Regions from separate parts of the Homo sapiens genome. Here region 2 is linked to region 1. The links are contacts of gene promoters, found by promoter capture Hi-C in human tissues and cell types (Jung and others, 2019). All regions are on one chromosome and are shown on one strand. Each heading gives the region's core, a stretch centred on a gene start or on the middle of the fragment in contact. The rest is flanking DNA. Distances are from core to core; before and after follow the strand shown.

What was found. Contacts are between HindIII fragments. The study calls those that stand out against the background at their distance.
Region 2: a contact is called between a fragment that was not itself captured here and the fragment with the promoter of CLCN4 in region 1, in 2 of the 25 tissues and cell types used here (IMR-90 fibroblasts and dorsolateral prefrontal cortex).

Annotation. Positions count from the first base shown.
Region 1 is chrX:10,154,758-10,158,559 of GRCh38, reverse strand. It overlaps CLCN4 (chloride voltage-gated channel 4), which reads right to left and starts at 1,585. Exons shown (of 13, transcript NM_001830.4): 1 at 1,460-1,585; 2 at 9-271. The HindIII fragment of the contact is 5,415 bases long and covers 1-3,802 here.
Region 2 is chrX:9,891,271-9,894,336 of GRCh38, reverse strand. All of the region lies in intron 3 of SHROOM2 (shroom family member 2), which reads right to left. Among named protein-coding and RNA genes, the nearest start is that of CLDN34, 75 kb to the left of the region's middle. The HindIII fragment of the contact is 5,546 bases long and covers 1-3,066 here.

The DNA of each region.
Region 1 (3,802 bases), core at 336-2,835:
CCCCTTACCTGCAGTGCCGCATCGCGCCCGCGGCCGCCCACCTGGACAGCATCCTCGAGCATCCTTTCTTCAGCGCGACGGCTGCGAGCGCCGTGACATCACCAGGAGGCGGGCCCCACGCTGCCACGTGACGCCCTCGGGGCGAGGCAGGGAGGTGTGCGCGGGGTGGGGGGAAGACCCTGGAAGTCCCGGGAGGTGAGGGTCGATGGCCAGAAACCCTCGCGCTGGCCGCCCCTCAGGCGTTTCGCTTGATGTGTGCAGCTTGCCTGGCCTTTCGCGAAGAATTATGAAAAACAACACACAGGAGGAGAAATCCAAATTATTACAGGCTCCAAGCGAGTAATAGGATTTCAAAAGAATTAGCAATAAAGGGATTACAGTGAAAGGAAATACAATTTCATGTTTTATTTTAAAACTAGTATTTATCAAATGCAGTGGAGAAATAAACATTTTGTGCAAATCAAAATGACACAAAATATAGCATGGACATACTTTGCCTAGAGTTTCTATGTTTCAAGCCGTATATCGAGTATTATACCAAACACTTTAGTTCAAAGCAATTCATTATGGAACATTATACTAATTGCACGGATGAATAATGCTTTAATTACTCTGAATAGCTGCATTCCAATATTAATTTGTATTTGCCAAAGGAAAAAATGGTGACACCACGTATTTCTACTACTTACTTAAATATGTGATGATTTAAAATAAAGCACTGCTACGTGAGCATGGTTGTATTTGTGTCTCTGTTTTCTTACATCTTCTGGCAAGGCATTTAATCTCTGAGACATGACTTAATTCACAATAACTCATTATTTCACATTTTCTAATCTTTATCACATTCTGAAGAAGTGAGTCATTTTACTATCACAGAAAATATGTACAATGTCAACATTTCTCATTCACAACTGAAACAGCCTTGCCTAGAAAGACTTTAGAAAATTACAACTGTGATAATTTTGTAAATTTGAAATAGCGTATTTCAAACTTAAGCAGTGCACATATAAACTTTTCTTTTGCCAAAATACACAAGCGTTTTTGAAATGTAAAAGGACAAAAGCAAAGACTGCTTTTATTTGTATTCCAATTGCAAATAGATTCATTTACTTTCACTTGAGTTAAAAATCACAATTTTAACATTCCCTTTGCTCACAGCCCTGAAGGAGACATGAAATAGATTGTTTTACAAGCAGGCTAGAGTTAAGTTTACTTGCAGTTTATTCCATCAGCTTTCGTGTCCTTCTATATTTAACCCTGGCCCTTATACCGTGATTCCCTCCAAATTAACCAAATTTCTGTTCAGAAGGTTAATCTCTAATTTGGGGATAAATACAGCCCTTGACTCTCACAGCGATCAATTATTTTCAACACCAGATTTTAAAAATCAACAAAGTCGCAGTGTACTTTACTAGGTCACTCCTCTCAAATTTGTTTTTCTGAGTGATAAGCAGCTTACCTTCCGCTTTCAGATTCTGAGATAAAGTTAAAACGCTACCGAAATCTCCTGCTCCTTTGGGTTGAGGGTCTAATGGAGGCAGAAACTGACAAGCTCATTTTCCTGCCAGAGGCAAATGTCGATTTCAGCCCGGAGGGCCCCGGAGGCCGGCTGGGAGCATCACGTGCTCGGCCCAGCCACTCAGCCCTGCCCAGCCAGCCTGGTCACCTCTTGGCTCCGGAGCCCCGCCGTGCCAGTGTCATTCGCCTCCTACCCCCGGAGCATTCGTGTCCAGAGAAAACCCGGCGTCCCGGAGACAGGACGCCCCACCCTCAGGGGCTGGGCTGCACGGAATTCTGTGACCGGATTTTCCAGCATCAATGGGAGGTGGTGGGTATACAAAATGCCCTGCAGCCTGAAGAGGATGGTAGCACGGTGCAGACAGCCTTGCTCCGTATTCCGGCTTGGCTGAAATGACGAAATACAGGCAACCTTCTTCATCCTGGAGCAGTTTTTTTGCAGTAGGTTAGTTTCACCTTCTCTTTTTTCTAGGTGATTGCTCAATTGTAAAAAACATTGCAGCAAACCGGCAATTCAGACAAGGCCCAGAACTGGGCCAAGCAATTCTCAACAGAATGAGAGAGCTGTCTGAACACCCTCCACCCTCGCCTTTCAAATTGTCATTTTAGCCAAGATTAAAAAACAAAACCAAAAAAAGCAAAAACCAATACCACCCATGGGAATGTAAGTTGAGCAATCTTTCTGGTGGTCTGTTTAGCATTTTTCCTACCAAATGCCTTACAGATACACAGTTTCGCCAATTACTCCGGGCCCTACAGCTGTTGGTATCATGTGCTCCAGCAACTTGATGTCCAAGAATTTGTCCTGGGGTGTGGGGAGTGGGGGTGGGGGGAAGAACGGTGTGCAAACCCCTGACTAGGGAAAGTTTGCTGCAATATTACTTATGATCTCAAAGCACTGGAAACAAGTTAAATCTCCAAAAACAGGGGATGTTTTAAATTATAAGCCATCTGTGCAGTGGAAGAATTAAAACTAATACGGTGGTACACACGGATGGAAAAAGACATGTGCAGCGGATTAAATGGGAAAAAAAATGGAAGCTTCAAAGCATTATGTGCTGAGTGATCCGTCGTTTCTATGTAGGTGTAATATATTTATATCTACACATATACCTTTGCGAACACAGAAAACTATTAGGAAATGAATTCACTAAAGTATCAAACATGGTATCTCACTGGTTAGTGGGATTAAGGGTGTTTTAAATTTTTCTTCTTTTAAGCTTAGAGATATCGTCTAATTTTTCCACAGTGAATATGTATTGCTTTTATAGCAACAAAAAAATTGTTTTCTTAAAAGCACCATATAGACATGATTATGGAATAAACAAACAGTTTTGGCTAATTTTTTAATGCAGATTTCATTACTTGAAGATCCTGAATTCTTAACCACAAAGTCCCGAGGGAACAATCCCTAGCCATCCTAGATTATTCTGCTCATGAAGATCTTTAGGAAAGAAAGTGCCATTCAGGGGCCGTTGTTAATATTTAACCATCTGTATGTCCAGTTTTAATTTCTCTTCCATTTAAACCTACTTCTTTTTACTTTGCTCTGTGTGGAGATAGAAAGCTGGTTATTACCATCCTTCATGAAAAGATTCTTTCAATAGTTACGGAATAATAACCTTTGAGTTTTTTGTTCATTCGAGACAGGGTCTCACCCTGTCTCCCAGGCTGGAGTGCAGTGGCACGATCATGGCTCACTGCAACCTCAAATTCCTGGGCTCAAGCAATCCTCCTGCCTCAGCCTCCCAAGTAACTGGGACTACAGGCTCTTTCCATTGTCTTCACAGATTTCTCTTTCCTATCCCTTTGAATCTTCTACATTTTTTCTCTTATCTGCCAGTTTTCTACAGATGTCATACAAGGTTTAGAACAGCGGTTCTTAATGGGGTGATGTTGCTCCCTTTCCCCCAGGGGACATTTTTGGCAGCCACAACTGAAGTGGGAGGAGCCGTGTGCTCCTGGCATTGAGTGGGTAGAGGCCAGGGCTGCTGCTGAACATCCTACAGTGCACAGGACAGCTCCCTCTCCACTCCTACCTCCCGGGACAATGAACATTTCGGCCCAAAATATCAGTACAATAGTGCTGAAGTCGAGAAACCCTGGTTTGAATTACTGATGGAGTATAATTTGATGCCCAAGATGTTCCATTTCCCAGCCATTTTCAAGAGTTCCCCATTGTATGATGTGCTGGAAGCTCTCTTCATTATAAATCCCTTAAAGGTAGTACTCCCAGCATGTGGGACGTGTCATTGCCCACCTGTGTGTGCACCACAAACCACCT
Region 2 (3,066 bases), core at 543-3,042, 260 kb after region 1:
CAAGGCATGGTGTGCTTTAGCAACAGCAATGGCAAAGGGCAAGGCGGTGGACGCAGCTGACCCTCTGTGGAAATACCAAAATGCCAAACAGTAATTTCCCACGGTGATGTTGCTGAGGCTGAGGTTGCAGCTCAGCACATCTGGATTTTAGTAGAGACACGGAGAAACTGGGCACAGGCTGAAAAGACTGTGTCCTCCCTGTTACATGGCTTTTACCAAACAGATGCCTTGCAACCCTAGCGCACATTCTCAGCCTGATGCCCGGATCGTTGGCAGGCAACGTCTGCATTTACACGTCTATGGTCAATCAACAGTTAAGCGCAGGGGTGGCCACACCACAACTCAGGTTGTTGTTGTTGTTGATTTTGGTTTTTTTTTTTTTTTTGAGACAGTCTCACTCTGTCGCCTAGGCTGGAGTGCAGACGCGTGATCTCAGCTCACTGCAACCTTCGCCTCCTGGGTTCAAGCGATTCTCCTGCCTCAGCCTCCCGAGTAGCTGGGATTATAGGTGCCTGCCACTGTGCCCGGCTAATTTTGTTGTATTTTTAGTAGAGACGGGGTTTCACCATGTTGGCCAGGCTGGTCTCGAATTCCTGACCTCAAGTGATCTGCCTGCCTCGGCCTCCCAAAGTGCTGGGATTACAGATATGAGCCACCGCACCCAGCCCAAATGGTTTTTATATGTTTTATGGTGGGAGAAGAGGCATACTATTTCTCCTATTTCACCTGTGAAAATGATATGAAATTCAAATTTCAGTTCATACATGAAGCTTTACTGGAACCCAACTGTGCCCATGTGTCTGCGTAGTGTCTGTGGCTGCTCTTGGGCTATAATGAAAGAGCTGAGTAACTGCAACAGAGATGTGCGGCCTGCAAAGCCAAAAGCATTTACTAGCTAGCCTGTTACAGACCAGGTTTGGTGGCTCACACCTGAAATCCCAGTGCTTTGAGACGCTAAGGCAGGAGGATCACTTGAGGCTGGAGGATCACTTGAGGCCAGGAGTTTGAGACCAGCCTTACTTAGCAATATAGTGAGACCCCCATCTCTATAAAAACTTTTTAAAAAATTAGCTGGATGTGGTGGTGCATGCCTGTAGTCCCAGCTACTTGGGAGGCTGAGGTGGGAAGATGGCTTGAGCCTGGGAGGTTGAGGCTGCAGTGAGCTGTGACTGCGCCACTGCACTCCAGCCTGGGCAATGGAGTAAAACCCTGTTTCAAAGATAATAATAATAATAATAATATCACACACTGCTGTGTTCAGCTTTCAGCTAACTGGTTATACCCTACAGAGTTATTGACACTCACACCAAAAAACACAGGCTCCTAAACAGGATGGTGTCTAAGAGGATGAAATTGACGGTGAGTTGACACATTGATTCCTCTGTAAGGTAATAACTGTGTGTGACTGAGAGCTCTCAATGGTGAAACTATTTATCCAGGATGTTAAGTGCTTTCTTTAAAGCTCAACAAAGCTGAGATGTTCACCCTTCAACAGGAAGAAGCTGTGGCTCCACTAGGTTGGGGGAGAGTGAGGATGAGAGAACCGTGTGACCAGGACAGAACACTGGAGAACAACTGGCTGTCATCTATGGGAGGGAGAGGACTGTTTGGGTTTCCCACCCATCTTCTGTAAGAACAGACCACGTATCCTCAAACCCGGGGCATGCTCCTGACTACCCACCAGTATTCTGGAAGGGACTTTTCTGTGAGATCCCAAGTCCAAGCAGATCTAGAGAACTCTGAGCACTGTTTCCACACAGATGTGGGCAGTGTGCATGTTTCTTTCATCAAGAGACTGCCAAATGGGCTTAATGGAGATCTCATCACCTTAAGTCACTTCAGGAATAAAATAAAAGGCCCACTGTTCACTTAAGTGTTACTACTCAGTTGAGAATCTGTGGCTTTTTGTTTTTTTGTGTTTTTTTTTTCCCCAAAAAATACACTGGGCTCTAAATACCATCATCTTTTGTCACTTTAGGGGTAATGTTATATTTCAGTTGTCTTTCCTTCGTGTCATATAAATCTTTACCTTGCAATTTTACAGACCAGTATTTTTTTTTCTTTTCTTTTTTTTTTTTTTTTAAGAGACGAGGTCTTGCTCTGTTGCCCAGACTGGAGTGCGGTGCTGCAATCATAGCTCACTGCAGCCTCGAACTCCTGGGCTTCAGTGATCCTACTGCCTCAGTCTCCTGAGTAGCTGGGACTACAGGTGTGCACACAATGCCCAGCTAATTTTCTTTTATTTTTAATAGAGATGGGGTCTTGCTGTGTTGTCCCGGGTGGTCTTGAACTCAAACAATCTTCCCACCTTAGCTTCCCAAAGTGTTGGGATTACAGACATGAACCATTGCGCCCAGCCAAGACCAGCATTTATTAACAGCCAAAAACTGAGTGGTTACATTAGCTCCAAACACAGACACATACCTGCGTGTGCACGCACGCGCACACACACACACACACACACACACCAAACATGCTCACTGATACTCACACACTCACATACACATATACATGTGCACACACATGCACATACAAGCAAAGAGATGCACAGGCACACATACAGGCACACACGAACAGACACATGAACACTCATACACATACAAAGACACACACACACAAACGTGTAGAAATACACATGCACACTCACACCCCCCCACACACTCACACCCGTAAACATACACAGATACACACACACACTCACGCAAGCAGGGAGACATCCACACACGCACACCAAAAGCAGACTATCTGCTGTTACCGCCATCCTCTTAACAGGAGACTAGTGAGGATACTGCCACTAACTCCAAGAGGGTTGAGGAGAGGCTACCAAAGCTTAAAGAACCTCTTGGGAGCTTTTACAAGATATACCTGCCACCCCATATATATCTCCTGCCTTCCAGTCCATGTGTAAAACCCTGGAAAGGAGAGGGGTGCCGTGGATGCCACCCCACCGGCTCAGAACCCTACTGCCTGGCATCCCACCTGGCCAATCCCAAAGAAGCTTGGCTGAAACCCAAGTCCTATGCTCCCCTTCTTGCTCATGCCTTGTCTTGCCATTTCATTTTGTGT